Regions from separate parts of the Homo sapiens genome. Here region 1 is linked to region 2. Evidence: promoter capture Hi-C in 16 types of primary human blood cells and fetal thymus (Javierre and others, 2016). All regions are on one chromosome and are shown on one strand. Each heading gives the region's core, a stretch centred on a gene start or on the middle of the fragment in contact. The rest is flanking DNA. Distances are from core to core; before and after follow the strand shown. Region 1 overlaps RNASEH2B-AS1 (RNASEH2B antisense RNA 1). Region 2 holds the start of KPNA3 (karyopherin subunit alpha 3).

Region 1 (3,745 bases), core at 1-2,500, 1.1 Mb after region 2:
AAACAGTATAACATTAGACATTTCTGATTTAAGGAATAGGATTAACGTAAATCTTATATTCCACTTATATGAATCAATAACTTTAGAAGAGATTATTTGCAAAATATCTGCCTGTAATCTCCTAGCATCTTCACTGCTGTGCACAGCCCCCACCCCTCCAGCCACATAGGAAGCAGGTGGTGTTTCCTGGGCAGGGGAACATGGCGCTGGGGGAGGTGGAGCTCATTTGTCTCTTGATCTTGCCTTTGGTGGTTGCATCCTTAGCTGGACCCCATGAGACACTTACCTTGCTTTCACAGAAATCACTCACTCTGTGAAAGAAATGAGAGTAAAGGAAGGGAAAGAAAATTAAGGAAGGCAGAAGTGAACATGGAAGAGAAAAACAATAAGAAAGAGGAAATAGAAGGGCCATGGTTTTGAAATACAACGCCTGGAAAACAGAAAATGAAAACAGAATAAAGGAATGAAATTGTAAAAGCTATGAAACAAAGTAATGAGAGAAATAAAATCTTAACTCTGAAAAAAATAGATGTGATTTATGACAAATATCAGGAAAGTGACTCAAGAGCATCCTGAAATCTCCTTGATAGTACCGAAGGGAGACCTGGGCTTCTTATGATCACTGACATCTGTAAAATAAGAATGGTAGCTGTAAATTTTGAAACGATGAAAAATAACCTTGTAGCAGGAATCAAAGGGAGAGTTTGATCTAATGTTGGCCAGAATGAGTCAAATACATTCACTTCGCTAAAGTGCTCTGCGTTGGTCAGCCGATTTTTCTTTTTTTTTTTTTTTAAAGTAAAATCTTTTTTTATTATTATTATACTTTAAGTTTTAGGGTACATGTGCACAATGTGCAGGTGAGTTACATATGTATACATGTGCCATGCTGGTGTGCTGCACCCATTAACTCGTCATTTAGCATTTTTCAGATTCTACGAGACCATTCAAATTCCAGCTCTGCTTGATATTCTCTCTCTTTGTAGTGTTGAGACAAAAGCCTTACAAATGTTTGTGTAGAGAAATCAGTGATGTTAAAAAAAGCAATCACTTGTATGAAAAATTCCAAAGACAGCACTAACATGAAATGATGAAAATGCCAAAGATATGAAAAATAAAGACAACTGTTACAAGACGTAACGGCTCTGAGTGTTTGCTTTTATGTGACAGATGTTTTTAACCAAAGCTCAACACTGGCAGTTTGAGTACACTTCTGATTTTAATTTGTGTTCTATCCCCTTTTCGTATTGATGTCTACTCACATCTGTGAAGGCTCTGTAACCTGAATTTGACAGGGGAAAGTGAACAGACTGCTTTTGGAGTGCTTCCATTAAGTCCACATAACAGACTGTTAACAAAAATCTTAAATAGCTATTCTAATCATCAACAGCAATCTTACACAAATTAAATTAGGCCCAAAGGGCCCGATTAACTTTAAAATGCCTTACAGGCATGAAACATAAATTTAACTTATTTTCCCCCTTTGGAGTAGAAAGAGAGTTGTTCAGTGTGACTCAGATGCACAGTTTAAAAAAAAAAAAAGTATGCATGCTGTGAAGACATGGAGACAGGGTTTCATTTTCTTTTTCAGGAAACCACACTTACAGGCATTGAAATTCAGTTAGGCCACAGCCATGCTCCCTGTTTACATGCAAAGTAGATGCATTAAGGTTTTCAAGGTTTTAAAGTAGATGCATTAAGGTAGAGTTTTTGCAGATGGCACAGCTACTCTAATCAGCTCAAGGAAGTCCTATTGCTAAAGAAAGGAGACATATATCAACATGCATTAACATTAAAATGATGCCTTCAGAAGAGGTAAAAGTTGAACTAGAATTTCTGTAGTTCAAACCCACCTATCAAGAAATGGGTTAGATTCATGATTTAAAATTATACCACAAATCAAAGAAAAAATACTTTTTTAAGTGTCTGCTCTTCTTTATTTTAGCCAAATCTCTAGAGGTCTGTCCAAATATATTTCTTGAATTTTCTTGAACTAGCCAGCAGGTTCATCACTTGTGGATTTGCTGTAGTCTCCAATCCTCACAAGTGTTTGATAGCTTTTCTTAGGCAACTTCCTTCCAGCTGCATGGAACATGTAATTTCGGCCCAAGTCAATAGCAGTGAATGAGAAACCCAGATGCCAGGGAAAGGCAGCCTCCCAATAGATAGAAAACACCTGAAACTGGTGATCAGCAGCTTCCGGATAAGATCTCAGGAGTTGGGCCAGTGGGTTCAAGCATGCACACTAAGAGGCAAAATGGCAGAGTTTGACTGGTATATGACCTTCTAGGAGCAATCAACTGGTAAGAGAAGAGTGCTTCAAGTAAGCATGTGTACAACTCCAGTAAACACACTGCGCATGCGGCCCCTCCCAAGCACTAGCACACAAGTGGTCAGCCCACCCCAAGGGAAGAATCAGGGGAGAGGGGACCCAAGACCCTGTAAGTATGTCAGCATATAAAACTCAAAGTCAAAAGGTCAAACTGTGTACTTGATCTCCCAAGTTGCTTGCTTGGCCCTCTTCCAAGTGTACTTTACTCCCTTTCATTCCTGCTCTAAAGCTTTTTAATACACTTTCACCACTGCTCTAAAACTTGCCTCAGTCTCTCACTCTGCCTTATGCCCCTGAGCCAAATTCTTTCTTCTGAGAAGGTAAGAATTGTTGCTGCAGACCTATACAGATTCACCGCCAGTAACACTTTCAGCTCTTACAAGACCATTATAGACACCCGTGCTTGTCAACAACCTCCTGCTCTGATAACCTCAACATAAATTTATTTCATCAAACAGCAGATGCTCTCTTGTCCCACCAGCCCAGACACCAGTGGGTGAGAGTCATGGAAGGTGTTCATTTTCTGCAAAATATTCATTAGTACTTTAGAGAACCAAAGTAATTTTCAGAAAACTACCTATTTTCCAAATACCTCAGAGGAAACTGACCATATCTGGATCACTGGTGATAGAACCTAATTAGGTGAAGCCAATGGCAGTCTTCCATCCCCTGAGATTAGTACAGGGATGGGCACCATAATCCGAGATGAAATAAGCAGAATAAAAACAAGGACTCATATTTCATGTTACATTGTATACCAGGAAGTATATATCCCCCATGGCCACTGGCAGCCATATTGCGAGCACAAGGAGAACCAGTCTTAGGATGAAACTAATGCTGCCCTACCTTTGAAATCCAGTTATGTAGATAAATGTTCTTATTGCATACACAAGCTTGAGTCAGGTATTTTGATTCCTCGTAGGTGAAACTACTTAATTAATTTAAGTGGTCTTATGAGTAATTTGTACTCCAATGTCTCTGAAATTTTCCTAGAATTTAACTACTAATCCCAGGGACTGGGCCAGAAGAAGCTCTAAGTAGTAAACAATATAACTCAATGTTGTCCTCTTTTTCCAGTGCTAGAGCACTGTGGTTGACCCAAGGGTGTGAGCTTCTTTTAGTGGGTTATTCTCCCAAGATAATTCTATCATTATGCAACTAGACTTTTCCTACCCACCTGAAAAATAGGCCCTGTTATACCCTACGATGTCAAGCTAGGCTCATGCTGGAACTCCCAAAACATGAACAAATGTAGTTTTATAAAGTTTGAGCTGAAAAAATGTTGTGTTTTTTTTTTTTTCTTTTAGTTTATTCAGCTTAATCCCCTCTTTTTAGGTAAACCTACAATGGGGAAATGACTTGACTAAGAAAGCAATAGACTAGACCTAGAGATAGGACAGAGCCCAAGGCTTC
Region 2 (3,864 bases), core at 293-2,792:
TTTTGTAGCTCTGAAAAACGGCCTGAGTTTGTCTGTTTCTCTACAAAATAGAACACTGAATGGTATATTTACCCCACAACCTTCCTTAAGACAGGATAAAACACACCTCTTAATCACACTAGCTTATCAAAAATTACAAAACTGCAAATCATGTCGCCTAGTATTAGCAAAGAAGGCTGCGGCCTTAAAACCATTTTCCCCCTAACAAATCCAAAGGTCACGGTCCCAGTGAAGTTTGTGCATTATACTTACTGTTTTCAGTAGCTGCAGAGAGACCTCTAGCGCTGCCTCAATAAGCCGAGTTTGCAAATAGTACCTGCTAATGTCACCTTAATGAGACAATGGCAACATGCTGAGTAGCAACTAACTGAGTGACCGCGATGAATGTTTAGTTTTGCAACCACTTGGAAATTCTACTAGCTTGGAGCAAGAGGTATGTAAGAGAATTATGAACCTGTGTATCCAATTTATTTTAGTAAAACGTGTCAAAGAAATTATCACCCTATGCACACCCCACTCCAAGAAAGGCTAAGAAAACAAGTCCTATGAGCGGAGGTCGGAGCAACCTCTTTTCCGAAGCCTGAACACAATAGATGGCAAACTATTGTCCACCTTCAGCTCGCTCCAAATGCCAGCAGTTGCAGGAGTATGAGCTGCAACAGCTCGGCACGACTAGTCCAAAGACGAGCACTGGAATATAAGAAAATGGTCCTGGCGCATCCTACCCTCCCCCATCGATCACCCTCAAACAAGTCAGTTACCCGGCTGGTCCCCACCCCCCTCTGCGGGCCGCCACCGCCCGCCTGGGCCCGGCTCGCAGAAGGTAGGAGCCCGGACCGGCAGAGCCGAGGCTCCATGTGAGCCGCGCGGGAGGCGCAGAGGGGGCTGCACCGGACGGAAGGTTGCACCGGTGGCGGGCGCAAGCAGCGGCCGCCCCCTCGGCTGTGCGGTCGGAGGGCCCGGGCGGCAGCATCCCCGTTCATCCGGGCGGCCCTGGCCCGCGGACCCCGCCTCAGCTCCACATCCCCTCCTCGCCGACACCAGGCCGCGCCCGCGTGACGGGGCCGAAAACGCCGGCATTTCCCGGTCGCCGCGCCGGCAGCTCCGGGGGGTGACTGCAGCCCGGCCGGCGTCTCGCCGCCCGCTCCGCCCAGCCCGGGGCCGCGGTGACGGGAGGCGGCGGCCAACTCCGGCCGACCACAAGCCGACGAGAACCAGCCCGGCGCCGGCCCCCCGCCCCTCCCCGCGTCGCCGGGCCGGCGCGGCCAGGCGGGCCCAGACCGCGGAAGCACACTCACTTCCACATCGCGGCCCTTGTTCTTGAAGCTCTTGATGCGGTGGTTCTCCAAGCTGGGGTTCTCGGCCATGGCTGCGCGCGGCTCCGGCGGCGGCTACTCCTGCGGCTGCGGCGGCGGCGGCGGCGAATCTTGGAGCGGGAGGGGGAGGAGGGGGAGAGCGGGAGGGGGGAGGGGAGAGAAGAGCACGTTCTGTGACGCCTCCGAGCGCGAGGTGGCAGTAGCGCCGGGGGAGGCGCGGGCCGACTGCCGGGCCGGGTGGGGCGGGAACGGTGCTGAGAGCGGCGCGCGGCCGCGGAGGCTGGCGACACGTGACCGGGGGCGGTGACCGGCTTGGGCGTTCGCCGGGCTATACGTGCCCGTTGGTTCTCGGGATGACCCTGCCCTCTTCCCCTGCAAGGGCTCTCCACAACCCCTCGGTGCTGCAAGTTTTGTGCCAGAAATGGAGCCGGACCTGGCGACTTTTACTGCCCCTCAGGCGCGGGGCGGCGGTCGTCAACTACAGTTCCCATCATGCCACGATCCGCCTGGAGTAATTCTCCACGCCTAGTGAGAACGAGGAGAATGCCGGGACCCTTCCGCGCGCGGCTCTTTGCGCGCCGCGCTCATGTTGCTGGGCACAAAGCTCCGCCCCCACAAGGCCGCCTCTGGGCGGGGAAGAGCGGGGGAGCGTCCCTGGCACCTTGCGCCCTATCAGGAGGAAGAGGGCGGGCCTTCCTGGGAGCGCACCTCGCTGCCTGTAGCTAGAAGATCAGAAAAGGAACAACCGCGAGTGCTTTGCAGTCTCGCTTTTTTGGGGGTCTTCTCAAATAGCCACCTTCATTCGCTCTTCCCATGCTCTGCTTCAGTTTTATAAATAGCATTTCTACCTGACATGTACATGTGTATGTATGTGATACGAGTGTTTATATGCGTTACCTAGGTGCCCGCGCGGAAATTCAGCTCAATGAGAGCAGGTACTTTGGTTGAATTACTGCTGAATCTCTAGTGTCAAAACAATGCCTACCACGTCGTAGATACGCAATACTTGTTGAACTGGCGCTTTAGTGTCGCCCAGTTTCTTCATCATCCTTCCAAGCCCGGTTCTGCAACCTTCACTCTGGCAGTCCCTGTATTTACATGCCCCCCAACACTTCTTGTTCTACCACCACACAGAATCTTAGCCTTCAGGCAGCAGCCCAGCCCTGGTCCGCAGACTCTCCTGTGTAGCACTCCCACTCCCTCTGGGGGCATCGAAAGAATGAAAGAGGGAAATTTGGATGGATTACACTGATAAAGAGCTGCTTTCGGCCGGGTGTGGTGGCTCACGCCTGTAATCCCAGCACTTTGGGAGGCCGAGGAGGGCAGATCACAAGGTCAAGAGACCGAGACCAGTCTGGCCAACCATGGCCCGCATGGTGAAACCCCTTCTTTACTAAATATACAAAAATTAGCTGGGCGTGGTGGCGCATGCCTGGAGGCTGAGGCAGGAGAATCGCTTGAACCCGGTAGGCGGAGGTTGCAGCGAGCCGAGATGGCGCCACTGCACTCCAGCCTGGCGACAGAGGGAGACTCTGTCTCAAACAAAACAACAAAAACAACAACAACAAAAACAAAAAGCTACTTTCTGGAGCAGGTGGGCTTCATTTGCTTGTATGTTAATTTTCAGAATCTATGGTAGACATGAGCAGGTATGTAATGTTGTAGTACTTATAATTGAACTGAGGTCAAAAGTTGGTAGGACTATACCATGAAGAGATCAAAAAGGACAATCTTTAAAGCGAAAGGGCCTTGGCTGGGCGCGGTGGCTCATGCCTGTAATCCCAGCACTTTGGGAGGTCGAGGTGGGTGGATCACAAGGTCAGGAGGTCGAGACCAGCCTGGCCAACATGGTGAAACCCCACCTCTACTAAAAAAAATACAAAAATTAGACGGGCATATGGCGCATACCTGTAATCTCAGCTACTTGGGAGCCTGAGGCAGGAGAATTGCTTGAACCTGGGAGGCGGAGGTTGCAGTGAGCTGAGATCGTGTCACTGCACTCCAGCCTAGGCGACAGAGTGAGACTCCATCCCCAAAAAATAAAAATAAAAAATTCAAACAACCCAACAAAAACATGCAAAGGACACTGATCACAGAAAAAGAATAAATATATGAGGAGATACAGAAAAAAAAAAAAAAAAAAAAGCGAAAGGGCCTTAAAGAACCTGAGGCCCAGAAGTCAGGAATTCAGAAGCCTTTGGTGGCCAAGCTATGTCCAGGGGCATTCGTCTTGTGAGTGGTGGGGTGTGGCCTATTGATAAACACAGGCTTCAGATCCTCTGGTCATACTGGACTGTGGCCCAGTGTTGCCAGAAGATTCCACTTTTCAAGGAAAACCAAAAAGGTAGATTCTTTTTCTCTTTATTTTTAAATGTTAATTCACATTTTGTTAATGGACTTAAGCATTTCAGTCACTTCAGAATATCAGGTCCTCAGTTTGCAACACCTGATCTTAGTCTAACCACTCATTTGAAGGGAAACACACACACACACACCAGCTATGAATTTAGAAGGAATACATTAGGCAGGGCACAGTGGCTCATGCCTG

The links. Contacts are between HindIII fragments. The CHiCAGO score rates a contact against its expected background, and 5 or more counts as called.
Region 1: a fragment that was not itself captured here is called in contact with the fragment with the promoter of KPNA3 in region 2 in 1 of 17 cell types (total CD4 T cells); the score reaches 5.6 in total CD4 T cells.

Annotation. Positions count from the first base shown.
Region 1 is chr13:50,892,141-50,895,885 of GRCh38, forward strand. All of the region lies in intron 1 of RNASEH2B-AS1 (RNASEH2B antisense RNA 1), which reads right to left. Among named protein-coding and RNA genes, the nearest start is that of RNASEH2B, 16 kb to the right of the region's middle. RefSeq lists enhancers at 1,436-1,975, 1,446-1,595. The HindIII fragment of the contact is 2,618 bases long and covers 1-2,559 here.
Region 2 is chr13:49,791,140-49,795,003 of GRCh38, forward strand. It overlaps KPNA3 (karyopherin subunit alpha 3), which reads right to left and starts at 1,543. Exons shown (of 17, transcript NM_002267.4): 1 at 1,299-1,543. The coding sequence starts at 1,367. RefSeq lists enhancers at 58-577, 582-1,243, 1,244-1,905, 1,709-1,838 and silencers at 699-1,268, 1,389-1,638. The HindIII fragment of the contact is 6,989 bases long and covers 1-3,864 here.